Linked DNA regions of Homo sapiens: regions 2, 3 and 4 are each linked to region 1. The links are contacts of gene promoters, found by promoter capture Hi-C in human tissues and cell types (Jung and others, 2019). All regions are on one chromosome and are shown on one strand. Each heading gives the region's core, a stretch centred on a gene start or on the middle of the fragment in contact. The rest is flanking DNA. Distances are from core to core; before and after follow the strand shown. Region 1 holds the start of TLE2 (TLE family member 2, transcriptional corepressor). Region 2 holds the start of AMH (anti-Mullerian hormone). Region 3 holds the start of TIMM13 (translocase of inner mitochondrial membrane 13). Region 4 holds the start of CACTIN (cactin, spliceosome C complex subunit).

Region 1 (6,853 bases), core at 1,594-4,093:
GTCTCTACTAATAATACAAAAAAAATTAGCTGGGCATGGCGGCGGGAGCCTGTAATACCAGCTACTCCAGAGGCCGAGGCAGGAGAATCGCTTGAACCCGGGAGGCATAGGTTGCAGCAGTGAGCCGAGATCGCGCCACTGCACTCCAGCCTGGGCAGCAGAGCAAGACTCCGTCTCAAAAAACAAAAACAAAAACAAACAAAAAGCCACACACTATGGTAGGAGCTGGGAAGAGAGGGAGAATAGGATGGAGAGTGTGAAAATAACGGGGTGGGCAGAAGCTGTTGAAATGGGTGGCTAGGAGGGGCCGTTCTGAGGAGGTAGCTTTTGAGCTGAGACTTGAATGATAAGAAGCAAGGGAAAAGCATTCCAGGTACAGGGAACAGAAAGTGCAATGGCCCTGAGGCTGGACTGTGCCTGGTGTGAGGCCAGTGTGACTTGGGCAGAGTGAGTGAGGGCGAAAATGACCGGAGTTGAGATCATGAAGCTGGCTGGCCGGGTGCAGTGGCTCATGCCTGTAATCTCAGTGCTTTGGGAGGCCGAGGTGGGAGGATCGATTGAGCCCAGGAATGCAAGACCAGCCTGGGCAACACAGTGAGACCTTGTCTCTATAAACAATAAACAAAACATAAAGAGATGGTGAAGGGGAAAAGGGGAAGAGTTTTGTGAAGAGCCTTGTGGGAAGAGAGATGAGTTTGGATTTATTTTGAGGGCAATAGGGAGCTAGTGAGTACTACACACACACACACACACACACACACACACACACACACACACACAATTGTATCTTTATCCCAGGCTGTGTCTCTTTTCCTCCCTTCCCAGAGCTGCCCAACCTCATCGTTCAGGTCTCATCTCCAAGGCTACCCTCCCCCAAGGGTCCTCTCCCAGACACCCCACATAAGCAGGTTTGCTTTTGTTCATCTCTATCACTGCCCTCTAAACTCTTCCTCTGTCTGTACAAATAGTCCCATAATTACCAAGCTGTGAACCTGCCTAGCCTGTCACTCACATCCCACAAACTCAGAGAGGGCAGGGATCTGTCTCCCTTATCCACCCTTACAATCCCTGTGCCTGGAAGGATGCCTGACACGTCATAGGTGCTCTGTAAATATCTGTGGGCTGGAAAACGATGGCTTTAAATTTGATAAGGGCTTTTTTTTTTTTTTTTTGAGACAAGGTCCTGCTCTGTCACCCAGGCTGGAGTGCAGTGATGTGATCTCAACTCAGTGCAGCCTTGACCTTCTGGGGCTCAGGTATCTCCCGCCTCAGCCCCCCAAGTAGCCGGGACCACAGGTGTGCATCACCATGCCTGGCTAATTATTTTTGTATTTTTTGTAGAGATACAAAAAACACAAAAATGTTTTTTTGTATTGTCGCGGTGTTGTCCACACTGGTCTTGAACTCCTGGGCTCAAGCGATCCTCCCTCCTCAGCTTCCCAAAGTGCTGGAGCTACAGGCATGACCCACCACCCCTGGCCCATTGATAAGGGCTCTTGTGCCCTTTTGTAAGGGTACAAAATGGGTTTTTGTAACCCTAACCCTTAGGTACCATTAGGTACTCGATCACCTAAGGACACAAGTCCAAGTGTCATCAAGGGGCATGGATTTTTCTCTGTTTTGTTCCCAGCTGTGCCCCAGTGTCTACAGCAGTGTGTGGTCCACAGTATGCATTTAGTACACGTTTGTTGATTGACTTCACAAACCTCTCCTGAGGTTTCTCCAAAGAGAATAAGAACTTCCCACTCCCCGGGTGGGCCTGAAGGATGCTGGCTGGATGTCTGTGGTCTCTGGTCGGGGCTGGAGCCTTTGCCGTGGGAGAGACTTGAGTCTGATGGCAGAGCTGTGGTTCTTCCAGTTCTGAGTGGGACACGGCTCCTGCCTTCAAGAAACCCAGTCTGAGAGGGGAGACAGCCCAGTCCACTGGTGATGGCAGTAGGAACACAATTCCCATCTGTGGAAGTTTGCTCTGTGTAGGGAGAGGCTGACAGCGTTCATGCACTATCTCATTTAAGTGCAGTGCCCAGTGCGGTGGCTCCCGCCCGTAATCCCAGCACTTTGGAAGGCCGAAGAGAGAGGCTTGAGTCCAGGAGTTCAAGACCAGCCTGGGCAACATAGTGAGACGCCCCCCTACTCCATCTCTGCAAAAAATTAAAAAATTAGCTGGGCGTGGTGGTGCACACCTGTAGTCCCAGCTACTGGAGAAGCTGAGGGGGAAGGATCGCTTGAGCCCAGGAGTTCGAGGCTGCAGTGAGCCATGATTGCCCCACTGTACTCCAGCCTGGGCAACACAGGGAGACCCTATCTCTGCAAAAAATTAAACCCTAAAGATAGCGCACCACCCCTGACCTTTTGCAGAGACTACTGAGGCCCCCAGAGGGCGAGGGCCCGGCATGATCTGGGAAGCAGTGTTTGCTGTGAGATTCCCTTTCTGGCAGGGTTCCCTGCCAGCGCTTGGCAAGGCTGCGTCCTGCTGACCCTTCAATCTCAACCCAATGTCACTTGCTCAGAAAAGCCATTTCCGACTCCAGACTGGTCCCCGCTCCCCGCAAGCCCCCCCCCCCGCTCCCACGGTGGGTAACACGGTGTGAATTTCTTCACTGGTTTTTCTTCTCCCGCCCCTCCGGGAGGGGGTGGGGACCCTGTTTTAAGGCACTGGGCGCCTCCCCACCCGGCCTCAGTTTCCCCAACGGCCCAGGGACTGAAGGAAGGGGGCGGGTGCCCGGGGGCCGGGGGGGGCGCGGGCGCGGGGAGGGGCGGTGCGCGGGGGTGGGCGCGGGGCGGGCCGCGGGCGCGTGGGGGCGGCGGCGCCACCTTAAGGCGGCTCAGCCCGCGGCTCCCGGCCGAGCCCCGCCGGAGGGAGGCGGCTCCGCGCGGGGCCCGCCGCCCGCGCCGCCGCCACCGAAACCCGGCCGCGGCGCGCCCGACCTTCTGCGCCGGCTGCCGCGGCCGCCCTCGCCGCGCTCCCGCCCCGGCCGCTGCCCCTGCCCGCCCCGCTCGCCCCGCGCACCCCAACCCGGGGAGGGGCTCCCACGACCCCGGGCGCGCGCGCTTGGGGGCGCGCCAGGGACTCCAGGGTCCCTTGCCCCGCGCCGCTTCTCCCTCCTCCCTCTTTCTTCGGGCAGCCTCCCCACCACCCCACTTCAGCCTCCCCCACTCTTGCCGCCTCCATATCATCAAGCTCTGGTGGCGCCTGGGGGGCTTTTCGGATCGGCAGGATGTACCCCCAGGGAAGGCACCCGGTGAGTGCGGACTGCGGGGAGGGGGCCCCCAGTGTCCGGGAACTCAGACCCTGACGTTTCCCCCACACCCCCCCCAGACCCCGCTCCAGTCCGGCCAGCCCTTCAAGTTCTCGATCTTGGAGATCTGCGACCGCATCAAAGAAGAATTCCAGTTTCTTCAGGCTCAATACCACAGGTGAGGGGGGCCGCCCCAGGGGCCGCGGGAGTTCACCTGGGCGCCGGGGCGGGGCGAGGCCTCCGGGGTATAGGGCGGGGAGGAGGGGCTCCCGGTTGGAGGGGGGGCGCGACAAAGGCCTCCAGGTGGAAGCGCAGGTGCAGAGGGGTCTGGGGACAGTCAGAGCTGGGGCATTTGGAGCCCAGGAAGGGGCGGGGAGGGACTGGGACAGGAGGTGGGGGGAGGTCTGTAAGGAAGTCGGGAGGGGGAGATCCAGCCTCTCACTTTGGAAGCCGGCCCACATGGGGCGGGTGGGAGCCCCTTGCCCTCTCTCTTCTTCTCAGCCTCAAGCTAGAATGTGAGAAGCTGGCCAGCGAGAAGACGGAAATGCAGCGACATTATGTCATGGTGAGGGCACTTATGATGCCAGGGTGAGGGGAGAGGCGGGCAGGGCTTTGAGTCACGGTGGACTCTGGGGTAGGTCCCTGCCCCACTCCGAACCTCGTCTTCCCCGTCTGTACATTGGGCAGGTTGGGATTTCAGGCTCTCTAGGAGGGTCCTCCCAGCTCTGGGAATGGGGAGACAGGGAGGACCCCTCGCCTGATGGGAGTCTCTGTCGGGCCAGGGCCTCTGGACACTTCCTACCTGCCCTGCCTCTCTGGGGAGAGTAGAGGGGGCCCTTCCAGGCAGAGCCCCCGCTTCCTCCTCTGGGACCCCGTGGAGCTGGGGGGGGCTCTGCTTCCTGCTGTGATTCCCCTGAACCTGGGGACTCTTGGAAGACCCTGGCATCACCTATCTGGAGGAGGGCACCCATCTCCACCCTAGACGTTCTTACTTGGTTTTTCCTTTGCAGTATTATGAGATGTCGTACGGGCTCAACATTGAAATGCATAAGCAGGTAACTGGGTTGGGGTTACGCGTGTTCAGGAGGGAGGGTGGGGGTCTGGAAGCCCTGAGAAGGACCCAGAGTGGGCAGCCGGGGCCAGAGCAGACCTAGGGAACACGGGTCTCATCCTGAAATCTCCGCAGAGGTCACAGAGGGCCCATCTGGGACCAGGAAGACAGATTTCAGCCTCGTGGAAGGAAAATGAGTCCCACCTTCTGAAGACAGTATCTAGCAGTTGGAGCGTCCAGCAGAGATGCAGGCAGTGGGCAGGGGCCACCAGGCATCCCCATCAAGGAGGGCACATAGCAGAGGCAGGGCAGCCAGGCCAGGGAGGCTGTGGAAGTGACTTCTGTCCTAGGAGGGAGCTGGATGGCCACTCTTAGAGGTCCCTTTCAACCCAGAAAGTCTGAAGTTTTGAGATGGACCCCAGGTTCTGTTGCTGCTTTGAAGCTTCTGAGATTGGTCTCAGTGTGATTGGCTGGAAGGTTCCAAGATTGTTCTCCAGGCCCTGAATTTGATGCCATGGTTCAGACTGTGACCCCACTACTCCAAAATAGACCTCAAAACTCTGTGGCTGTCTTCAGGGCTTTGAGATTGACTCCAGTGTCGTAAGGCTCTGAGCCTCTTCTGGAGCTTCTCAGTGTGATCCAAGGTTCTGAGACAGACTTCAGGGTTCTGAAATAGACCTCAGGGTTCTGAGATTGACCTCAAGGTTCAGAGATAGACCTCAGGGTTCTGAGATTGACCTCAGTGTTCTGAGATAGACCTCACGGTTCTGAGATTGACCTCAGTTTTCTGAGATAGACCTCAAGGTTCTGAGATAGACCTCAGGGCTCTGAGATTGACCTCAGGGTTCTGAGATAGACCTCAAATTTCTGAAATTGACCTCAGGGTTCTGAGATAGACCTCAAGGTCCTGAGATAGACCTCAGGGTTCAGAGATAGACCTCAAGGGTCAGAGATAGACCTCAGAGTTCTGAGATAGACCTCAAGGTTCTGAGATAGACCTCAGGGTTCAGAGATAGACCTCAAGGGTCAGAGATAAACCTCAGGGTTCTGAGATTGTCCTATCTGTGTACTGAGATGTGTTAAAAGGTTCTGAGGTGTTCCTGAACTTGTGATCTCAAGGTTCAGAGATAGACCTCAGGGTTCTGAGATAGACATCAGGGTTCAGAGATAGACCTCAGGGTTCTGAGATAGACAGGGTTCAGAGATAGACCTCAGGGTTCTGAGATTGACCTCAGGGTTCAGAGATAGACCTCAGGGTTCTGCGATTATCATATCTATGTGCTGAGATGTGTTAAAAGGTTCTGAGGCTATTCCCGAACTTCTGATCTCAAGGTTCTGAGATAGACCTAAAGATTTTTTTTTTTTTTTTTTTTTTTTAAATTTTGAGACAAAGTTTCACTCTTGTTGCCCAGGCTGGAGTGCAATGACCTGATCTTGGCTCACTGCAACCTCTGCCTCCTGAGTGCAAGCGCCTCTCCTGCCTCAGCCTCCCGAGGAGCTGGGATTACAGGCGCCTGCTACCATGCCTGGCTAATATTTTGTATTTTTAGTAGAGACGGGGTTTCTCCATGTTGGCCAGGCTGGTCTTGAACTCCTGACCTCAGGTGATCCACCTGCCTCGGCCTCCCAAAGTGCTGGGATTACAGGAGTGAGCCACCTTGCCCGGCCAATAGACCCAAAGATTCTAAAATTGACTTTAGTGGTCCATGCTTAATCCTGAGATCCTGAGACTGGCCAGTGGTTTCTAAAGGGATGAGAGGGGTCCCAAACTTCTGAGCTTCATGGGCTCCTAGATTCTATCAGAATATTAGAATCAATGAGCAGAACCTTGTATTGGGACTTCCCGGTGGCTGGGAAGGAGAAGGGGGTGGGCTGGGAGTGTGGGGTGCCTGGGGTTGCCCACCCTGGCATGCTTTCCTGCATGTGTGGGGGTTCTGTTGGTTCTGATGTGGGCAGGAGGGGGCTTGTCTGCTGAAGCATGGCGTGGTCCCATGGGTCCACGCAATAGACCCCCCTTTATGGGGTGCGGGACACCCTGGGATCCCAGTTCCACCCTCCTGGTGGGAATAGGAGACACAGACTTCGCCAGACACACAGCACACCTGTAACTCAGGCAGAGGCAAAGTCCGTGGCCATTGTATGCCCGCCCCCTTCCCCACCCACACGCCTTCTCGTCTGCTCAGCCTCTTTGGGGCACCTGGGCCCAGACCCTCTCCAGATGAAATCCTTCCCTTGAGTGTGGCGTGCTGAGATCTCCACCTGGAGGCATCCCCAGCTGGTAGATCAGTCCTGGGAAGCGGAGGAGACCAAGAAAGGGGCCTTGCCTGGGACAGACGTGGGCCAAGCCGGGGCTGGAATCTGGGACTCCAGGCGGAGGCCCCTTTCCTTTGTTTCAGCTGAGCCCAGCACCTCTGAGTGTCTGCGTCTGAGTTGGGTGTCTGAGCGTCTGCCTCCTGCAAATCCCTGGCGGGTGTGCGTCTGGCGGGTGGTGTATCTGTGACTCGTAGGACCTCAGCCCTGGTCTTCCCAGCTCCAGGCCACCCTGGGCCTCGCTCAGCTGAGC
Region 2 (6,853 bases), core at 1-2,500, 780 kb after region 1:
CTGGTTCTACGCTGTTCTCAGTACTGCAGACCCTGCAACAAATCCATGCCCCCCGCCACGGCCCGGGCACTGCCCCATGCAACTCCCTGGTACCTGGGCACCCGGCAGCCCAGCCCTCGTCACAGTGACCTCAGGGCCAGGCCCAGGGTACAGCACCAGCAGCGCCAGCTCTGGGGGGCCAGCTCCTCCAGGCGGGGGCTCCTGGAACCTCAGCGAGGGTGTTGGCTCCCAGGTCACTGCAGCCGGGACAGCAGGGGACGCCTGAGCCATTGAAGGCCACACCCCCCGGGAATCTTTGGGATCTGTCCCTGCCGCTCTGGCCACTGTGCAGGGGACCTCAAGCGGGGGACAAGGGTGCCCCTCTTAGCTGCCTTCCTGCAGCCAGGGAGCGGTGACGGCAGGGGCAGGCAGGGGCTGCGTCTGAGGCTGTGGGTGGGGCTGCCGCCCTGGGGTCTCTGGGTTGGGGTGCCCGATGAAGCCCCTTCCCCGCAGGGAGTATCTTAGGCCAGCGGCCCTGAGAACAGGCTGGGGCTGTGGGAAGAAGGGTTCCACTGGCCCCGAGCCCTGCGTCGTCTTCAGGGGTGGGGAGAAGGCAGCAGCTCTCTCCCTGGCACCGAGGCAGGGGCAAGTCTAAGAGCTGGGCTTCGGGGACAGGACAGAGTGTGGTGCCCACCTTCCAGGCCACGGACCCGCAACCCAGTCCTAGGAACAAGACCACAGCCTCCCTGCCCAGGGTGGGGGCTCTGCCAGCCCCTGATCTTCCCTAGGAGGACCCGGCCCACCTGAAGGAAGACGGCGGTGCCAAGCTTGGGGCTGGGCCCCACATACCTTCCTCCAGGTGTAGGACCACCAGGCGCTGCCCCCCAGGGTCCCGCAGCCAGGCCCCCAGCCGCCGTAGAGAGGGCAAGGCAGCCTGCCTGTCACCGGTGTTGCAGACCCCGAAGGTGGCCAGGTCTCGGGGGCCCCAGCGGGCCCTCTGCACGGCCCCCAGGAAGGCCTGCTCATAGGCGCTTAGAGCCCCCACCACCCGCAGGGGGGAGCTGCTGCCATTGCTGTCCCCGCCCAGTGCCACCAGGCACAGAGGCTCTTGTGGGCTGCCTGGAGGCCAGTCCAAGTCTTCTCGGAAGATGAGGCCACTGGTGCCCACAGCTGGCTCCTCTGCTCTGAGGGCCTCAGTCCCCAGCAGAGCCCCCAGGGCAGACAGCACTAGGGCCAGGCTGGTGAGAGGCAGGTCCCGCATCGTGGGTGCTGCCAGGGGCTGGGCTGCCTGCCTTAAGTGAGCCGAGTGGAAGGTGGGGTGTTTGTGCAGGACAGACCCCTATCTCCTCTGCCGCGACCTTGGGGGACAGTGCCCGGCGCCCCCACTCCAGGCAGAGTGGCCTTCTCAAAGAGCCCTTTCTGTCCCTGGCAGCCTATCTCCCTCCCCAGTGATAGAGCTGGGCCTGATGTGTCAACATGCCGTCCTTGAGGGCCATCCCCAGAAGACACAGGAGTGGGAACCAGGCTGGGAGTGACGGCCAGGCAACCAAACTAGACAGCGCTGGGGGCGGGGGGCCCAGATGTCCTGGGTGCTGAGGTGTGGGCCTGGAGGAGGAGGGTCCCAAGTCAGTGGGGGCGCCCTGTCCCTGCTCACCCTCCCCACCCCTGGTGGGCTATCTGGAGACCCCAAGGATATCGTGGAGTCTGCTCTTCCCTCCCCAGAACAGGACCCCAGATCCCCTCCTAGCTGGCTGGTGGGGTCTGTCCTCCACCAGGCCATCTCCAAGGTACAGCCATCTCTCAGGCCTCCCACAGGTGTCTCCTGGCGGGCCCCAGGCCCTCCCCAGTCGGCCCAAACTGGGGGATGGTGCTGTGCCTGGCACTCCCACACACACTGACACAGTAGGGCGGCGCTGCGGACATCAGTGCACTCAGGGCTGGGGGAGGCTGTTTAATGAGCGGGGGGCAGTACAAAAGAGCAGCCTTCTCTCAGTGGGAAAAGGCAAGAGCACCTGGCGCTGGGCTTGCTGGGGGAGGGAGCAGCTTCTCAGTTGGTTGGGGGAGGGGGAGGTATGTTCCCTGGGCCTTCGGAGGGAAGTGGGGGCCTCAGCATTGGGGGCATGGGAGTTGGGGGGTGCACCCCAGGATTTGAGGGGTGAACTCCCGGAGGCTGAGGGTGGACCCCAGGAGCCGACGGATGGACCCCGGGAGGTTGGGGGTGGACCCCCGGGGCCTGAGGGTGCATCCCTGGGGCTGGTGGGTGCACCCCTGGGGCCTGAGGGTGAACGGCGGGGGCTGCTGGGTGCACCCCCGGGGCCTGGGGGTGAACCCCCGCTGATGGGGGAGGATGGACCCCTGGGGCTGGTGGGTGAACCCCAGGGGCTGGTGGGTGGACTCCGGGGGCTGGTGGGTGAACCCCGGGGGCTGGAGGGTGGACTCCAGGAGCTGGGGGGTGGACCCCAGAGGTTGGTGGGTGGACCCCAGGGGCTGGGGGATGGACGCCAGGAGCTGGGGGGTGGACGCCAGGAGCTGGGGGATGGACCCCAGATGCAGGGGGATGCACCACTGGGGCCGGGGGGTGGACCCCTGGAGCTGGCGGGGGTAGCTGGGGTGGTCCCGGGGGCCCTGAGGGCGCAGGCCCTGTGGGGGGCATGGGTGGCAGAGGCAGGCCTCCTGGCGGGGGCGGTGGCAAAGACTCAGGCAGCGGTGGCCGAGGGGGCAGACCGTTCATCAGCGGGGGTGGAGGCCGCTTCACCCCAGGGGGGCCAGCAGGGAGGCTGGGTGGAGCCGGGGGCTTCTCCATCTTAAAGTGGAACTGGAGGAAGAACTAGAGAGACGGAGAAAGGTTCAGCAGGCACGGGTGGGGCTAGGGCAGGGCTAGGGCCGCCAGGGCTGGGTGGGAAGGAGCCAGGCTCGGGGCGAGCCACTCACCTGCTTGGTCTCCCGGTTCCAGTGTGTCCAGAACTTGCCCTCCGCCTTGTCGATCTCTCTGCTCGGCACCTGGGAGGGCGGGGGACAGAGAGGGCTCCTGGTCCCTGTGACCTCAGGGCGACCATCAGGCAGGGAGCCCGAGGCACTAGCCTCCCCAGCCCGGACTCTACCCTGGGAGCCCAGGAGAAGGCTGGTAAGACTTTCGTGGGGCACAGGGTTCAGTTCTGGAGTGAAACAGACCTGGCCTCAATGCTAGCACGCTGTTGGCCCCCTCCCTGGGCAGTCACCGTTTGTATTATTTGTTTCCTGATGGCCGCCCTGTCCAGGCATGGGGACAGGCTGTAGGAAGCCCTCCAGCAGCCTGGCCCAGGAAGTGAGGTCACTTGGCAAAGGCCTCACAGGCCTGGCGCTCAGCCCTGCCGGCCTCCCTTCTCATTGGCCCAGTGGAGCCCAAGCAGGCCCTCCTGCAGAGCCCAATGGGAGAGGTGCCCTGCCCGGCCTGTGCAGACCCTTCTGGCTCCGACTTGGGGGGGGCCCAGGGGACCCCAAGCCCGATGGGAGGGGCATCCTGCCCAGCCTATGCAGATCCTTCTGGCTTGCACATCTCAAGGGGGCCCAGGGAACCCCGCAGCCACGCTACCTTGAAGGCAATGGTCTCGTAGGGCTCGGCGGCCATGAGCAGGTACTGCCAGCGCCGGTCCGGAGGCTCGATCCTCTGCTCGTACGCAGACATGAAGCGGTGACGTGGCATGATGCCCTCGGCGATCTCAGGGTAGTCAATCTGCAGGGACACGGCCGGGTGGCAGAGCCGCCTCTTGGGTGCCTTTGGCCGCCCCCCACGCCCAAGTCCCTGATCTCACCTGGAAGAGGAGGCTCTGCTGGCCCATCTCCGAGTCTCTCTGCTTGGTCACTGCAACACAGAAAGCTCTCAGGTCCCGGCTGCTTGTCCTCTCCGAAGCTGAGGAACCTGGGGCAGGCTAATGCCACCCACTGAACGAGAGCGGGACCCCGGGGGAGGCCCTGCAGCTCTGGCAACCATTAGACAATCTCCGCCCAGGCTCTGGGATTCTGGTATAGGTGAAGGCACAGGTGCGCCAGAGCTGAGCTACCTGCGGAGTCACTCAGGCAGGGACCGAGGATGGTGCTCCTTTGTCCCAATCCCCAGAGCCCTTCACCAGGGGTGCTGGGATACCACCCAGCAGGAGTTGGGGCCACTGGGTAGGGAGGGGCCCTCGGCACCCTGGCTCTGGGATTCGAGCGGGGCCGCCTGAACAGGGCTGACACCATGTATACGGTGAGCGAGAGAGGATGCCCTTCCCGCCAGAGCTCAGCAGCCTGGACCCCGAGAATGGCTGCTGGGCTGCCTGCCGCCCGGCCACTCTCCATGCGGCCTCAGACACGCACACTCACAAGCCCTCTGCCGCCTCACCGTCCTGAGCCCAAGCCCAGGACCTGTCAGGGCCTCCCCACCAGGAGCCTGCCGCTCTAGCCACCCTCGCCCACCCGGTGCACCTGCCCCGGGACCTCTGCCCTGCAGGCTTCTGTCTGGAGGCCAGGCACACAGGCTGTCCCCGCCTTCTGTAAAGAACACTTGCTGGGTAGCGTGCCCGCCTTCCTGAACCCTATGGACACAAGTCTCTATCTTCCACCCTGGTCACTTCCCCAGCTTTCTGAACCGGGGTCACCTCTAGCCATTCCCACTGCTGAGGGTCCGGGAGGAGCTGCCTCTAACAGCCGCTTCTCCCTGTCCTCCTTCAAAGGCTTCAAGGTTAACCGGAGGGATGTGCCAGGGCTCACCACACCTCCACTTCCACTCTTTTGCTTGGCAAGAATTCCCAGAAGCTTCCACAAGACCCGGACAGGAGGGCACAGACTGTGGCTCAGCTGGGAAATGGGCTGCTGGGTGAGATGGGTGCTTATCGGGCCCAGCCTGACAGCTCCCAGACACAACGCCAGAGGCTGCAGGTGGGTGAGGGACGGCCACCAAGGCCGGAAAACAGTGGCTCAGGGAGGAGGCTATCAGGGCTGCACCTCCCGCACTGGAGACTAAAGAACACACTTATGTCACGGCAGCGGCTGTGGCCGGCCCCGCTGCGGGCAGACTCACCTTTGTAGCCCGGGCGGCCGATCTTCACAAACTTCTTCACCTCCACCTTGACCTTCTCAGGCGCGGGCTGGGCAGGGGCCTCCTTGGCCTCCTTGGCTGCTCGCCGGGCCCTGCGGACAGGATGGAGGTGCTGCTGGGACCCCTCCACACACAGGCACCAAAGCCATGGGCCCAGGTGCCAGGAGCCCCCTGACCTTGGAGCTCACTACAAGCTGAGAGATGAGGAGGGCCAGGGGCCTGGGAGGGGCCCTGGGGTTTGGCTGAGGACAGGGATAGGACAGGCATGTTCTCTTCCTGTCATGCTCCTCACTGTCCCTGGCTGGGGCCCTTCCAACAACTCCATGCCTCTGCTCTTTTTTTTTTTTTTTAATAAGACAAGAGTCTCACTCTGTCGCCCAGGATGGAGTACAGTGGCAGCACCTTGGTTCACTGCAATCTCTGCCTCCCAGATTCAAGATTCTCCTGCCTCAGCCTCCATAGTAGCTGTGATTACAGACGTGTGCCACCATGCCTGGCCTAATTTTTGTATTTTTAGTAGAGATGGAGTTTCACAATGTTGGCCAGGCTGGTCTCGAACTCCTGACCTCAAGTGATCTGCCCGCCTCAGCCATCCATGCCTCTGTTCTCTAATGCTCCCCAGGAACCGTACTCAAGCGCCCAGGGAGGCTCAGGCCAGGCTGGCTCCCCGGCTGTGGAGCAGTGGCCCGCGAGGCTCACAGAGACTTGAGCCAACGGCTGCTGGAGCACCAGGCATCAAAGGGACATGAGGTACTCACAGGTTGGTCTGGTGCTTCTTCCCCTGCGTATGTGCCAGGTAGCTCCCCTGGAGTGGAAAGGAAACACGCATGACTCGAGGCCGGGCGGACAGACACAGGCAGGTCCCCCTGACGTCAGCCACTCAGCCCGCCGCGAGCCGCCCGGAGCCAGGCAGAGGCCGCACCTCATTGTTGTGAAGTGTCAGGCAGAGTTTGCATTCATAGGAGCCCAGGTGGTTCTTCATGAAGTACGGGTCCTGGAGGGGAAGAACAGGGGCCCGTTAGACAGAAGATCGCGGCCTGCTGCCGTCAAGGCCCTCAGAGGCGGGATCCCCTTTCTGTAGAGGCATGGAGGCAGAACCCCCCTTCTGTAGAGGCATGGCTACCGCTGACAGTGGTCAAGCATTTCTGAAAACGGGGGATCCAGCGGGAGGCCTTCGTGAGCACGGGTGTCACCACCTGGGGCTGTGGGCCAGGCTTCGAGCAGTGGGGGTTCCCAGGGAGCCCCCGACACCACCTTCCTGGTGGTTCTGAGTCAGAGGGAGGCACAGCCAGGACAGCACCGCCGGTCACTCCCGAGGCAGGGAGCCGTCCACTGCCCACGCCACCACGCCAGCAGTAGGCACAAGGCAGACACAGGCACAAGAAAAGCAAATGGGCTACACTGAAGACCCAAAGACCCGCCCATCTGCAGGCCCTAAGCTGGGGCAGCCGGGCGCACACATCTCGTCTCAGACGCTGGAGTTCAAAGTCTAACTCCACCATCTGCGGCTGTGGCACCCCCTCTACCCATGACCTCATCTGGAAGACGGGGACGGTAACAGAGCCCTTGCCATAGGCCAGGCCCGTGGGGCATGTCAGGGTACACAAAGAGTGCTCCAGCCCCGATGTCCACGGTGCTGAGGGGACTCGGCTCACCCCTGCCTCTGCACAAGCTAAAATCAAAGGCTGCCCTTCACCACATCTGGCTGGACTGACATCAGCTCTCCCCACTCCCAGAAAATTAAATAATGCAAAACAGAAGGCTGTGGACAGAACAAAACATGTCCACATGGGACTCAGAGCCACAGAGGGTCTGCTC
Region 3 (6,853 bases), core at 4,354-6,853, 600 kb after region 1:
GAAAGACCGGGGCATGGGGGTAACGGGGTGACCCAGCTGATGGGGGTGACCAGGATCAGGGTGACGGGGCCGCCGGCCAATGCGAGGCAGGGGACAAGGTGACTGGAATGACCGGGGCATGGGGGTAACGGGGTGACCCAGCTGATGGGGGTGATCAGGGTCAGGGTGACGGGGCCGCCGGCCAATGCGAGGCAGGGGACAAGGTGACCGGAAAGACCGGGGCATGGGGGTAACGGGGTGACCCAGCTGATGGGGTGACCAGGGTCAGGGTGACGGGGCCGCCGGCCAATGCGAGGCAGGGGACAAGGTGACCGGAAAGACCGGGGCATGGGGGTAACGGGGTGACCCAGCTGATGGGGTGACCAGGGTCAGGGTGACGGGGCTGCCGGCCAATGCGAGGCAGGGGACAAGATGACTGGAAAGACCGGGGCACAGGGGTAATGGAGTGACCTAGCTGATGGGGGTGACCAGGGTCAGGGTGACAGGGCCGCCGGTCAGGACGAGGCAGGGGACAAGGTGACTGGAATGACCAGGGCATGGGGGTAATGGGGTGACCTAGCTGGTGGGGGTGACCAGGGTCAGGGTGATGGGGCCACCAGCCAGGGCGATGGGGGCGGTGTCACAGTCCTGGTGGCTGAGGGTCAGGTGTGTGCCGTGTCTTCCAGGATCAGTCTCTGGGGAACTGGAGAATCAAGAGGCAGGTCTTGGAGGGGGAGGAGATCGCCTACAAGTTCACGCCCAAGTACATCCTGCGCGCCGGCCAGATGGTCACGGTAGGTGGTGGGGCAGGAGGGCGAGGGTGGCCACGGATGGGGTGTGAGGTGGGGTCAGGGGACTGGAGGCACAGGACTTGGCGGGGGTGGGTGGGGATGATGGTGGCACCAGGCACCGTCTCAGAGCGGCTGCCGCAGTCATAGAACCTCCATGTGCTGGTGTCACCCCACTGGGCCTCCCTGGAGCCTGAGTGGTGTGCCCTGGGTCTGAGTCCAGGCTGCTGGGGCTGGCAGGCGTCCCCGTGAAGTGTTAACAGTCAGGCGCATGGGCCATGGAGCCTGGTGGGTGTCAGATCCCAGTTCAGCCCCTGCTTGCCAAGAGCCCTTGGCCTCTGTGAACCCTGGTCTCTTCTTGTGTATCCTGGGGACCATCACCCTGGATAAGCCTGCGTCGGGCTGGAAGGACTGAACGCCCAGGGCATTGAAGGGGGCTTTGTGGTAGGGGCCACTGGCTGGCCCACGTCCCTGGAACCAGAGGTGACCCTGATGGGGCCATTGTTATTGGGTCCTCAGGTGTGGGCAGCTGGTGCGGGGGTGGCCCACAGCCCCCCCTCGACGCTGGTGTGGAAGGGCCAGAGCAGCTGGGGCACGGGCGAGAGCTTCCGCACCGTCCTGGTTAACGCGGATGGCGAGGTGGGTGTGTGTGGCTTGGGGGGTGCTCGGCTGGAGTCCTGGGCAGGGTCTGGGCACCCTCGGGGCCGCCACAGCAGCTCTGGGCCCGATCCCGGGACATGCCGCCGTGTCCTGTCCCGCACAGGAAGTGGCCATGAGGACTGTGAAGAAGTCCTCGGTGATGCGTGAGAATGAGAATGGGGAGGAAGAGGAGGAGGAAGCCGAGTTTGGCGAGGAGGATCTTTTCCACCAACAGGTAGGACCCCTGTGCCCACTTGCGGCTGGGGGGCAGCCTCTGGGGCAGAGTGAGCTCGTGCACACACATACACATGCGTGCTGGCCGCATCCCCGACGGGAGCTCCATCTGGCTGCCGTGGCTCAGGGTGAAGCCAGCCTTGGCTGTTACCAGCACGGCAGAGACCTGTTCTTGCCTCCTGGGTCGTGCCCATCGTGTGAATTTGCGACATCACAGACCTCAGGGTAGCTGGCCAGGGGGTCCCCTGAGAGGTGGGTGTTGAACAGCTCCCCAAATGCTCTCTGGTCAACCGGCTTCCTCAGTCGAAGACACAGGTCCCTTCAATACTGGCTTCTGGGGAGAAGATGAGTGCAGAAACCACAGCTGCATTAAACGCGTGCGTCGCAAGTTCCTGTGACTGTTTTGGAACCCAGAACAGAATGTGTAGCTCACAGGCGGGCTCATGGGGACATGGAAGTGGAATGGAAGGCTCTAGAAATAGACACTGTTGTTGCTCAGCCCCTCCCTGGTGGGGAGGTGGGGGCAGCCATCTACCTGCCGGCTGCCTCCAGGCTGGCCCTGATCATGGCCGACCTTCCTTCCTTCCTTCCTGCAGGGGGACCCGAGGACCACCTCAAGAGGCTGCTACGTGATGTGAACCCACACTCCTCATCCACACACCTTTCTTTACCCAGAGCCACTGAAAACTATTTTTATATCATTGGCTTTCTTTAGTTCTTGATACATTTCTAGAGAATTTCTAAGCGAACTGCCAGAACGTGTGGGTGGGTCTCCCCCAGCCCTCCCTCCTGGCGGGTCTCCTCCAGCCTCACTTCGCTGCCACTTCGCCGCTGCCCCGGAGACTTTTCAATCCCACCCCACTCCTCATCTCACCATTTGGTCAAATTGGAAGCCCAGGGCCAGGACCCGGAGGTTTAGAAGATGCTTGGGCTTGGAGGGAGGAGGGCCGGCGAGGCTAGCGAGGGGACAGGAGACGGCCCTGCTGCGGACGGAGCGCGGAAACTGCGTAGGAATTCAGTGGTGGTGGGTTTTTTTAAGGCTTTCTACAAAACCAAATTCAGAATCCAGGCGTCGACCTGGTGGGGCCCGGGGCCAAGCCTGCATTCTGGCTGCCCAGCTTCGGACAGCGGGAACTCCTCAGGCAGCCACGCAGCGGGTGTGGGCCAGCATGGGGATGGCGTGGCCCCCAGGGCGGGTTTTCACTCCGCTGCCTGGGCTTCCAGATTCCCGTTCTGGCAGCGCACCGGCCGGGTTTCTCGGACCGTTGACTTTATTTGGGGGAGTTTTCCCGCAGTTCAGTTCCTGACTGTGCAAGGCCAACAGGGCAGGGGAGGGGAAGACCTGGGGAAGGAAGAATGAGGACAGTCCCGTCGTAAGACCTGTCACAACAATAAGCAGGGAGGGGAGATGTGGAGGGGACACATCTGGTTGCCTTGGAGGCAGAAGCTGTGAGTTTCAGAACAGCTGTCTGCAGGGAACGCCACCATGTTGACCCTCTGGAGGAGAGCGCTGTGGAGCCCCTCCCGTGTTCCAGCTCCGTCTGCCCTGTGCCTATATATACACATGCGTCTATCCATACTGTGCTTTTATCTGTGATTTTCTCGCTGAAACCATGTTTCTCAGACAGGCCAAGGCCACCTGACTCCTATCACGACGCACCCAAGCCCCTCAGTCCAGCTTCCCAATGCCTGGCACCCCCCTTCGGCAATAGCTCACCGTTTACACCCTCCCTCATAGATACACAGAAGTTATTTTTTTAATGGATATTTATTTTTTTACATTGGTCAGTACACAGGTCAGGAGCTCACGCCAGGGCCTTGAGGACAGGCTGACCCTCCTCCCCGGGGTGGCGTGGGGCTGGGGCACCCTCCGACGGCAGAGCCTCCTTCAGAAAGTGCAGCTCAAGTCTTAAAGACACCAAAACTGAGCCATGGGCACGCGCCGTCTCCGGGCCATGGCGTTCACTGCAGGGCGGGGGCGGCACCGCTCCCCTGTGACTGCATCCCGCCTCCCTGGGGACCTGCCTGTGGCAGGAAGGAATGGGGGGCCCCAGCCCCAGGCCGGGAAGGAGCCAGCGGCCGACAAAGCAGAAACACCCGCTGCTCCACGTAGCCCCTGCTCGCTGTCCTTGCTCTCAGAAGTCCCGGTCCCATGTAGATAGAGGGGGGCGCATCTTACCAAAGCATTTCCTCCTGGAGGCTACGCCGCTGTGCTCCCAGTCAGGCGGCTGGTAGGGAGCTTTGCCTGCCCCGGGGATACCCTCTGCCAGCCGCTGGAAGTGGGAATGCTGGCGACAGACTGTGTCCTCTTTCCCACCTTCATAGCAGGAATCACCCGGACCCGACTGGCTGGGCTTCGTGCTAGCGAGGGTTCTGGGGGTGGGTCTTGGTGATCTTGTCCTATGGGGAGTCTGCAGTGGTCTCAGCCACATCCTATGTATTTTGGCTCTGGAGGAGCAAAGCTGTATCCTGGAGTTGGTCTGTGATTTGCCGACAGCCTTGCAGGCTGGGCTCAGGGACAAAGTCCCCCCCAAAACCCGCAGGTCCTCATGTCCAGACGCTGCCCAGTCCTGTCCTGAAAACAGCACGCCCCAGGCCCACAGAACCCCCCACCCTACATTTGCCTTGGGTGGAGCTGGGGGTGGTCCTAGGACTGCGGGTGCCCTTAGCTGAAGGGGGTGGGGAGAAGCGTGGACTGGGCAGCCTGTGGGTAATTGGAGGTTCATTGAGAATTGAGTCTTTGGAAACACTAAGAAAATCAAATTTTTAAAAGTTATTTATGGCCTGGGAAACAATTTGCATTTGTCCCCAAATACGCTTAGCTGTGTGCCGCTTAGAACGATGCGAAACCATCCCTCTGTGTAAGCCCGTGCCGTGTGACTCGAAGCCTAGCGCCCTCCCTGCGAAGCATCAGACGCCACCCAGCCCTGGGGGGAGGCCCACGCCTGCTGGACCAACGCGGGTTCTGGGGTGCACAGCGCCAGGTTAACGCTGAAGCCTGCCCCGCTGAGCCCAGGAGCCGGGAGGCCTGCGGGCTGACCCAGAATCCGATCATGCACCTGTCCTCATGCCAGCGGCTTTGGCTGGGGTTGGTCTGAAGCCTGCACGCGGCAGTTCTTTGTTAAAGATCTGAGGGACTCCTCAGTCCTGGGGCGTCGCCGCCTGCAGCCTCTTCCAAGCCCTGCGTCCAGCGAGCGTCACAGCACAACCTGCAAAAACGGAGCTGGGCTGCAGCTGGGGCTGGCATGGACTTTCATTTCAGAGATTCGGTTTTTAAGAAGATGCATGCCTAATGTGTTCTTTTTTTTTTCCAATGATTTGTAATATACATTTTATGACTGGAAACTTTTTTGTACAACACTCCAATAAACATTTTGATTTTAGGTTCTGCCTCTGAGTTTATTCCTGAGGGGAAGCTCGAGCCGGGGCCTCTGCCCTAATGAAGCGGATGTCTAAGAAAGATCCCTCCACCCCCAAGGAAAAAGGTCACTGGCTAGTGTAGCTAGTGTAAACAGGACCCAGGCGATGCATGGGACCCTGCCCTTTTTTTTCTAGTGAGCCTCCGACGCTGTTGCACAAGCTGACTCTTCGTCACGTGATGCGACCGGGCTCCGCCCCGGCGGCAACACGCTGTATAGACGCGCCGGGTGCCTCGTGCGCATGCGCGGCAGGCCCTTCGGGACGAGCTGGAGGCAGAGCGTGAGTACAAAGTGATCGGCCTCGGCCGCACGTAGTAGCCCCCCTACTCCCCGGCCAAGTCAGGGCCTCCCTCTTCCCGCGGAGTCGCAACCACGGGTAGCTCGTGTAGGTAACGGCAGGTCCAGGCCTCCGCATGAGCGGAGGGCCCCCCGCGCGACCTTGAATGGCCCGGGCGCGCGCGGTCGTGTGGGAGTTGTAGTCCTCCGTCCCCGTCCGCGCGGACTCCGTTTCCCGTGGTGCCCCGGGCGGCCCGCTTCCGGCGCAGTTAGTTACGAGTCGGCGCACGCGGCCTCGGTCCGGTTGACTTTGCGGAGCCATGGAGGGCGGCTTCGGCTCCGATTTCGGGGGCTCCGGCAGCGGGAAGCTGGACCCAGGGCTCATAATGGAGCAGGTGAAAGTGCAGATCGCCGTGGCCAACGCGCAGGAGCTGCTGCAGGTGCGGGGCTGGCCGGGGACGGGCGCTGGGGGCGACAGGGCCACCCCTGGGGGCCGACGTCGCGGCTAAAGCCTCGCGTGTCTCCACAGAGGATGACGGACAAGTGTTTCCGGAAGTGTATAGGGAAACCTGGGGGCTCCCTGGACAACTCCGAGCAGGTGAGACCCGCGGAGGTTCGGGGCAAGGGTCGCGAGGGCCTAGATTCGAGGGGGGAGGTGTCTGCGCGTGCGCAGACTAACGGGGAGGTGCGACGGAGTGGTCACTGCACGTGCGTAGTCTGCAGCCCGGGCGTCCTGGAGCCGGGGTCAGGGCGGTCCCCGGGGCCGCGAAGTCCCGAGCTGAGCCGTGCGCCCCTCCGCTCCCGCAGAAGTGCATCGCCATGTGCATGGACCGCTACATGGACGCCTGGAACACCGTGTCTCGCGCCTACAACTCGCGGCTGCAGCGGGAACGAGCCAACATGTGACCGGCGAGCGCGGGCCACCCCACCCTGTTCATTTCCATAAACGTGCTTTGAGAGGCGGGGTCCGCATGTACGTACTGCCTGCCCGGGGCTTAGGAGGGTGGCACCGGTGCTGGGACACACGGGACTGTGTCCTCGCCACCCCCCGCCCTGCCCCCTGCCAGCCAGTGCAGCTTGGATCTCGGGGGTGTGGGGCCCTGTGCCTTCCTGAAGTGCTGGCAGCCCAGTGGCACCTCCTTCAGGCCTTTGGGGTATTCCCCTAGTGTGCCCAAGTCAGCCTCATATTCTGGGCGGACAGCTTGTCTGGACTTCGGAGTTGGGGGTGGTCAGACACCACAGGAGCTGTCACCTCCTGCGGATGGGCAAATAAATTGGTGGAGGACGGAGAGAAACCTCTTTATTTCCCTCCTGAGGGGTCTCTGGGAAGAGGTGACGCGTGTCCCTGGAACCCCAGCTCGGAGGGTCTCAGCCTCCCCTGGGTTGGGAGAAGTCCATCTTTCCCCTTAGTGCCACCGGGCTGCTGAGTCACGAGGAATGTGTTGCTGCTGCCACCCCTGCCCCAAAGGCTAAGGGGGACAGCCTTCCCCTTGTCAGGGCTTGCTTTGACCCTGCTTC
Region 4 (6,853 bases), core at 2,804-5,303, 600 kb before region 1:
CATGATAGAAGTCTGTAAATACCTTGGTGACCAATGCCCACTTCCCCTCCTGGGTCACCTCTGATGGCTGCTGTCCACTGAGAACGTGGGCAGTGTCCAAATTCCTGTACTGTAAAGACTAAAAGGCGTTTGCTCTGAGACTGACAAGGCGGAAACTTCCATGTGTCTCCTGCCAGGCTCTGTCCCCCTACGCCATCCCGACACGTCCCCGTTCCCCCGAAACCTGGCTCAGTGCAATACTCCCATTGCCATGGGGTCCTTCACCATGGTACTGTCTCCACAGCCCTCAGTCCCCACCCCAGGAGAGGCGCCTGCCACCTCCTCCTCATCTCCGGTGGTTCAATCGCTCCGCCTGTCCCCAACCCAGTCCCATTTTTATGGCCAAACTGATTCTGAAACAAAATGAAACTGCAAACCTCGTGTGTCTTAACTCCCCCCAGGGATGCCACTCCATTCCTCCGCCCCGTGGTCTGGTGCGTGACAATCCAAAGCGCCGAGACGAGGGTGCTGTGTCCCTCAAACCCAGAGTGGTGGGCGCCTCTGAAACCATACAGCCACTCCTGGCCCCAAACACTGGTTTGCATCCCAGGTTCCTCGCCCACCTACCCCCGCCACACCCCGTCTTTTTAGAGATCTCTCTAATAAATCGGGTAATAAGCATCCGCCTGTTTGCCTTTCTGTGGGTTCCGGAGGTCTGGTTGGGAGTCTGAGGAGTGACTTTGTTCTGTGTTTTTTGTTTTCTGTTTTTGTTTGTTTGTTTGTTTTCTTTTTAAGAGATGGAGTCTCGCTCTCCACCCAGGCTGGAGTGCAGTGGCGCAATCTCAGCTCACTGCAAGCTCCGTCTCCTGGGTTCACACCATTCTCCTGCCTCAGCCTCCTGAGTAGCTGGGACTACAGGCGCCCGCCACCACGCCCAGCTAATTTTTTATTTTTAGTAGAGGCAGGGTTTCACCATGTTAGCCAGGATGGTCTCGATCTCCTGACCTCGTGATCCGCCCACCTCGGCCTCCCAAAGTGCTGGGATTACAGGTGTGAGCCACCGCACCCAGCCTGTGTTTTGTTTTTTTTTTTTTTGAGATGGAGTCTCGTTCTGTTGCCCAGGCTGGAGCGCAGTGGAGTGATCTCAGCTCACTGCAACCTCTGCCTCCCGGGTTCAAGCCATTCTCCTGCCTCAGCCTCCCGAGTAGCTGGGACCACAGGCGCCCGCCACCACACCTGGCTAATTTTTTTGTATTTTTAGTAGAGACGGGGTTTCACCACATTGGCCAGGCTGGTCTCAAACTCCTGACCTCAAAGGACCCACCCGCCTCATCCCAAAGTGCTGAGATTACAGGCGTAAGCCACCGTGCCTGGCCTGAGGACTGACTTTGAATCTTAGAGAAGAGAGAAACCTTTGTGAGATTGATGCTGATACCAGTAATAGGACCCAAACACCTTACCAGCTGTGAACCTTCTTCAGGTCCCAGTTCAGCTCAGAAAACATTTTATTGTTTCCAACATCTTTGCAGCCCCCCAAAGTTTGTATTTGTTCTGCTAGAGCGGTTCCAATTCAGTCACGTTTGGACCCCTTGAAGGGAACACATTTATCTTGGACTCCCAGGTTGAGAAACTACATTGAAAACAAGATCCTGGCCAGGCGTGATGGCTCACACCTGTAATCCCAGCTACTCGGGAGGCTGAGGCCAGAGAATTGCTCCAACCTGGGAGGCAGAGTTTGCAGTGAGCTGAGATCATGCCCCTGCACTCCAGCCTGGGCGACAGAGCAAGAAAATGTCTCAAAAAAAAAAAAAAAAAAAAAGTAAGATCCTGTCTGTAAGGGAGCCGTTGGAACGTTTCAGCACAGCTGTTTTATAAACTGAACATGGAGGTGATCTCGTTGTTTTAAGTTTGTTTTTTGTTTTTTTGTTTTTTTTTTTTGAGATGGAGTCTCGCTCTGTCACCCAGGCTGGAATGCAATGGTACGATCTCAGCTCACTGCAACCTCCGCCTCCCAGGTTCAAGCAATTCTTCCTCGGCCTCCTGAGTAGCTGGGACTACAGGTGCCTGGCACTACACCCGGCTAAATTTTGTATTTTTAGTAGAGGTGGGGTTTCACCATGTTGACAAGGCTGGTCTCGAACTCCTGAACTCAGGTGATCCACCCACCTTGGCCTCTCAAAGTGCTGGGATTACAGGACTGAGCCACCGCGCCCGGCCCATGCAAGTGATCTCTTAATGTGCTGCAAGGATGCATCTGAATTTTGGGAAGCACAGGGTCAGGCCTTCGCTTTGTTTTGGGCCATCCCATCAGCATGACAACCCACATCTCAGGACCGGCAAGGTCATCATCTAGAGCGGCAGGAGATGGTCTCTTCTTCCTCTGTAAGGTTCCATCCTTGCCTTAACACCAAGCAAAGCATACAAAGCCAGCGTTTACGGGGATGTTATGAAGTTGTATTCCAAGATAAACGTTTTATTTATTTATTTATTTATTTATTTATTTATTTGAGACGGGGACTTGCTCTGTCGCCCAGGTTGGAGTGCAATGATGCGATCTCAACTCACAGGAACCTCTGCCTCCTGGGTTCAAGCGATTCTTCTGCCTCAGCCTCCCGAGTAGCTGGAATTACAAGCATGCCACCATGCCCAGCTAATTTTTGTATTTTTAGTAGAGACGGGGTTTCGCCATGTTGGACAGGCTGGTCTCGAACTCCTGACCTCAAGATCCACCTGCCACGGCCTCCCAAAGTGTTGGGATTACAGGCATGAGCCACTGCACCCCACTCAAGATAAACATTTTAATTTTCTTTTTTTTTTTGAGACGGAGTCTTGCTCTATCGCCGAGGCCATAGCGCAGTGGCACGATCTCGGCTCACTGCGACCTCCGCCTCCCAGGTTCAAGCAATTCTCCCTGCCTCAACCTCCCAAGTAGCTGGGATCACAGGTGCATGCCACCACACCCGGCTAATTTTTGTATTATTTAGTAGAGATAGGGTTTCACCATATTGGCCAGGCTGGTCTTGAACTCCCGACCTCAGGTGATCCGCCCGCCTCGGCCTCTCAAAGTGCTGGGGTTACAGGCGTGAGCCACCGTGCCCGGCCAAGATAAATATTTTAAAAGTTAGCTTAAATTACTATCATCCTCCATAAACAGGCCTTCCCAGCCCCGAGTGGTTAGAACTGCACGGGGTGGTGGTAGCAGCCACCATGGGCTAGGGGAGCTCAGGATGGGACATCAGCGTCTTCTAGGTCTCTGGCCTCCAGCCTTGCCCCTGAAGTCCGTCCTCCCACGCCAAACTTGTTTCAACAGCAAGTCCCCCAAACCCTGCTCACAACCCTCCCACGGGTCCCCAGCACCCACACCACAAAGCTGGGCAGCCTGGGTTGAGAAGGCAAGTGTTAAGAGTGACTTTCCCTCTCTGAGCCTCAGTTTCCCCGTCTCTAAAATGGGTTGATGGGGGAATACAGGGAGTTATCAAAGTTTTTGTTTTTTTTTAAAGCTTAACTCCCAAAATACATAGGTGTTCATTGGCAGGTGGTGGAGCATAACGATGACTCTCATAAGAAGGCTTTTCAGTTTCTGTCCCCGCGCCCGCCCTCTGCCCTCTGGAGCTGCCTGGCACCTAACACCTTCCCGGTTCCTCGCCTTTCGGGGACCTCGCTCCCCGGACACGCCTCTCCTCGGCCACGCCCCTGGCCACGCCAATGAAGCGCTACTTCCGACCTAGACCCGCTTCTTATTGGTCTCGCCTCGGCAGGCCCCTCCCTGCACAAGGTTCCTAGTTTGCCCTTGCCCCGCCCACAGTTTCTCAGGCCCCCTGAGGCGTGGGGACCCGCCTAGGGCTGCCTCCAGCACTGCCTGAAAGGAGACTCCGCCACCCTGGAGGCAACAATCCCACTGGAGTCAATCACGCGGTCCACATTTGCAGACGTAGTGGAAAGTCTGGGGTGTCGGAGTCCTTGCGGGCTGGGGCGACGGGATGGGTTGCTCTTTCCCGGCTCAGGCGCAAACGGGGCAGCCTGGAGAGCGCCGTGGGCGAGGAAGGCCCCCAGCGCAGGCTTCGGCTATTGGTGTTGGTGCCGCGGCCACTGGCCCAGCCGATGGGTCGGGACACACGCTCGCGCTCGCGGTCCGCGGGTCGCCGGGGCCGAAGGCGGCAGAGTCAGAGCGGGAGCCGAAGTCGGAGCAGGAGCCATGGGCGGCGAAACCGACGGCGCCGGGAGGACGAGGGACGGCGCAGACGGAGGCGGCGGAGCCGGGAGCGCAGGTGGGGTCGCTGCGGGAGCAGCGCTGGGGATCCGGCTCCTACCTCAGGAGCGCCCGACCGAGGGTTGGAGATCCCGGGGAACCGGGAAACCCCCGACTTACTCGGGGAGGGCTTCCTAGAGAAGGGGACAATTGACCACCGGTTGGAATTAACCTGGCAGCGGAAGGAAGGCGAGAGGCGTTCCAGGCAGGGGACCGGGCGGTTGGAGGGACAGCCCGGAGCCGGGTGAGCGAGGCGGCGGGGAGGTAACGAGAGATCAGATCATATCATATCGAGCCCTGTGTGCTCAGCACATTAGATCTTGGCTATTAGTCGGAGGGAAATGGAGAGTCTTGAGAGGAGTTTGGGTAGGGGAGTGACGTGGACTGACTTAACTCTGCATACTTTCTGGCTTTGAGGTGGAGAAGGGATGGAGCGGGGTAGGCAGGAGCGGCATCAGAGTAGGACGGCACAATTGTCCAGACAGTAGATGATGGCAGTCTCGATGGGAGGGAGGCTGTAGTCAACCACAGCGGGCAAAGTGCGTAGATTTCAGAGGGATTCTGGAAGTAGAGGAGACAACATTTGCTAATGGAGGTGGGCTGTGGGAGGGAAAAAGACTCGGTGTCAGCTGGCAGGACTCACAGCTGATTCCTAGTGCCTGAATCTCAGCTTCCCCATGGTCCTTTTCTTCTGGAGATGGGGCACTTGGTCGGATTTGCCTTGAGCCGGCTCCAGTACAGAGAAACCAAAATGGGGACAGGGACTGATTCCCAGACCGGGGCCCCAGTGCTGGCTCAGCCCCTTCGTGGCTGACACTCAGGCCAGTCTTGCCCCGCTCTGGGCCAAGTTCACTCATCGGTTGTTGGTTTTTTTGTTTGTTTGTTTTTGAGACGGAGTCTTGCTCTGTCGCCCAGGCTGGGGTGCAGTGGCACGATCTCGGCTGTTACCTCTGCCTCCTGGGTTCAAGCGATTCTTCAGCCTCAGCCTCCCCGGTAGCTGGGGTTACAGGTGCTTGTTGCCACACCCAGCTAATTTTTGAATTTTTTCGTAGAGCTGGGATTTCTCCATATTGGCCAGGCAGGTCTTGAACTCCTGGCCTCAAGTGATCTGCCCGCCTCGGCCTCCCAAAGTGCTGGGATTACAGGCGTGAGCCACCGCGCCTGCCCATAAGTCTTGTTAATGTCATCTTTGTGTTTTTTCGCCTACCATTTTCTGGTATTGGAATTATTCACAATAATTTGCCACTCTAGATATGTAATTAGAATTAATGTTCACGAAAATTCAGTTGAACTTGTGGCCAATATTTAAGGGCTCTGCAATGATTGGTTTCAACATAGTTTAGATTTTTTTGACATGAGCTTAATGGGTAGAGCATTTAACAAAATATTTGGCAGTTCTCTGTGTACAAAGACCCCTAAACGTGACTGAGCGCAGTGGCTCACATCTGTAATCCCAACACTTTGGGAGGCTGAGACAGGAGGCTTGCCTGAGCCCAGGAGTTCAAGACCAGCCTGGGCAACATAGCAAGACCCCTCTGTACAAAAAAATGTAAAGAGTTACCTGGGCGTGGTGGTGTGTGCCTGTAGTCCCCGCTACTCAGGAGGCTGAGGCGAGAGGATGGCTTGAGCCCAGGAGGTCAAGGCTGCAGTGAGCTCTGATCATGCACTCCAGCCTGTGTGACAGAGGGAGACTCTGTCTCTAATAAATAAAAATATAGACCTTGTCTCTAGTAGACTCTGTGTCTAGTAGACCTTGTCTCTAATAAATAAAATTAAAGGCCCCTGAACCACCCCTGAGGTTGTGCATCTTCCATTCCCTGCGCTCTACTCTGTTAACTCCTGTCCATCCTGTGGGACTAGTTCAAATACCACTTCCATCTAGGAAGCCCTCCCTTGACAGCCTAAATGTGTTCGGGTCCCCTGGTTCGTACCCTTATAATTCCTGCGCCACCAGCCCCAGCCACCTCCCTGCCCGCGCCTCCTCCCTCTCCCCCACACTCTGTCTCAGCCATACAGCCTCCTTGTTGTTCTTAGAATGTGGCAGGTCAGTGCCTGCCTCTAGGCCCTCGCTCTTGCTCTGCCTCGAGCACTCTCCCTCCGAATCCACCCATCGCTGCCTCCCCACTCCCTCCAGACCTTGGCTCAGTGTCAGCTCCTGAGAGAGCCCCTCTCTGACCTCGGCCCTGCAGCCCCAGCCCCTGTGCTCGGCATTGCTACTCTTTGTGGCTTCTGCCTCTGCCTAGTGTTGCGTGGTGTGTTTATTTGTTGATGTCTTCCTTGTTGGGGCCCACCAGAGGGTGAGCCCAGGAAGGCAGAAGCCATCGGTATTTGGGTCACTGCTGTGTCCCCAGAACCTAGAACAGTGCCTGCTCCCCCACGGGCACCCAGTAAGCATCTGTGGAGCAGATGACAGCTGCAGGCACTGAGCAGGCATCCATGGTCCTCTCCGCAGGTCAGATTCAGAGGAAGAGCGGTGGCAGCGCTCAGGGATGCGAAGCCGGAGCCCCCCGCGGCCCAAGTGGCACTCAAGAGATGGGTCCTCTCAGTCGGACTCAGGAGAGGAGCAGTCACGGGGCCAGTGGGCTCGCCGGCGACGGCGCGCACGCTCGTGGTCTCCTAGCTCCT

Evidence for each region. Contacts are between HindIII fragments. The study calls those that stand out against the background at their distance.
Region 2: a contact is called between the fragment with the promoter of AMH here and the fragment with the promoter of TLE2 in region 1, in 1 of the 25 tissues and cell types used here (dorsolateral prefrontal cortex).
Region 3: a contact is called between the fragment with the promoter of TIMM13 here and the fragment with the promoter of TLE2 in region 1, in 1 of the 25 tissues and cell types used here (dorsolateral prefrontal cortex).
Region 4: the fragment with the promoter of CACTIN here is called in contact with the fragment with the promoter of TLE2 in region 1 in 2 of the 25 tissues and cell types used here (heart right ventricle and small bowel).

What each region holds. Positions count from the first base shown.
Region 1 is chr19:3,025,270-3,032,122 of GRCh38, reverse strand. TLE2 (TLE family member 2, transcriptional corepressor) reads left to right here and starts at 2,843. Exons shown (of 20, transcript NM_003260.5): 1 at 2,843-3,242; 2 at 3,320-3,417; 3 at 3,741-3,804; 4 at 4,250-4,294. The coding sequence starts at 3,219. The HindIII fragment of the contact is 30,131 bases long and covers 1-5,874 here.
Region 2 is chr19:2,243,720-2,250,572 of GRCh38, reverse strand. It overlaps AMH (anti-Mullerian hormone), which reads right to left and starts at 1,250. Exons shown (of 5, transcript NM_000479.5): 1 at 829-1,250; 2 at 94-236. The coding sequence starts at 1,240. SF3A2 (splicing factor 3a subunit 2) reads right to left here. Exons shown (of 9, transcript NM_007165.5): 3 at 5,958-6,029; 4 at 5,794-5,840; 5 at 5,018-5,127; 6 at 3,771-3,820; 7 at 3,551-3,691; 8 at 2,911-2,979; 9 at 1,918-2,806. The coding sequence ends at 2,027. RefSeq lists promoters at 1,241-1,272, 1,241-1,450, 1,241-1,520, 1,272-3,306, 1,241-4,239 and enhancers at 1,168-1,307, 3,362-3,863, 3,162-4,239, 4,493-4,993, 6,658-6,853. The HindIII fragment of the contact is 11,600 bases long and covers 1-6,853 here.
Region 3 is chr19:2,426,336-2,433,188 of GRCh38, reverse strand. It overlaps TIMM13 (translocase of inner mitochondrial membrane 13), which reads left to right and starts at 5,603. Exons shown (of 3, transcript NM_012458.4): 1 at 5,603-5,775; 2 at 5,865-5,933; 3 at 6,143-6,853. The coding sequence starts at 5,656. The coding sequence ends at 6,241. It overlaps LMNB2 (lamin B2), which reads left to right. Exons shown (of 12, transcript NM_032737.4): 9 at 666-773; 10 at 1,287-1,406; 11 at 1,531-1,641; 12 at 2,237-5,023. The coding sequence ends at 2,278. RefSeq lists enhancers at 5,133-5,282, 5,367-6,112, 6,113-6,853 and a silencer at 5,833-5,922. The HindIII fragment of the contact is 21,330 bases long and covers 1-6,853 here.
Region 4 is chr19:3,623,990-3,630,842 of GRCh38, reverse strand. CACTIN (cactin, spliceosome C complex subunit) reads left to right here and starts at 4,053. Exons shown (of 10, transcript NM_001080543.2): 1 at 4,053-4,247; 2 at 6,681-6,853. The coding sequence starts at 4,081. PIP5K1C (phosphatidylinositol-4-phosphate 5-kinase type 1 gamma) reads left to right here. Exons shown (of 18, transcript NM_012398.3): 18 at 1-660. RefSeq lists enhancers at 3,720-4,089, 3,979-4,540, 4,541-5,102, 5,103-5,664, 5,891-6,390 and 1 more. The HindIII fragment of the contact is 17,013 bases long and covers 1-6,853 here.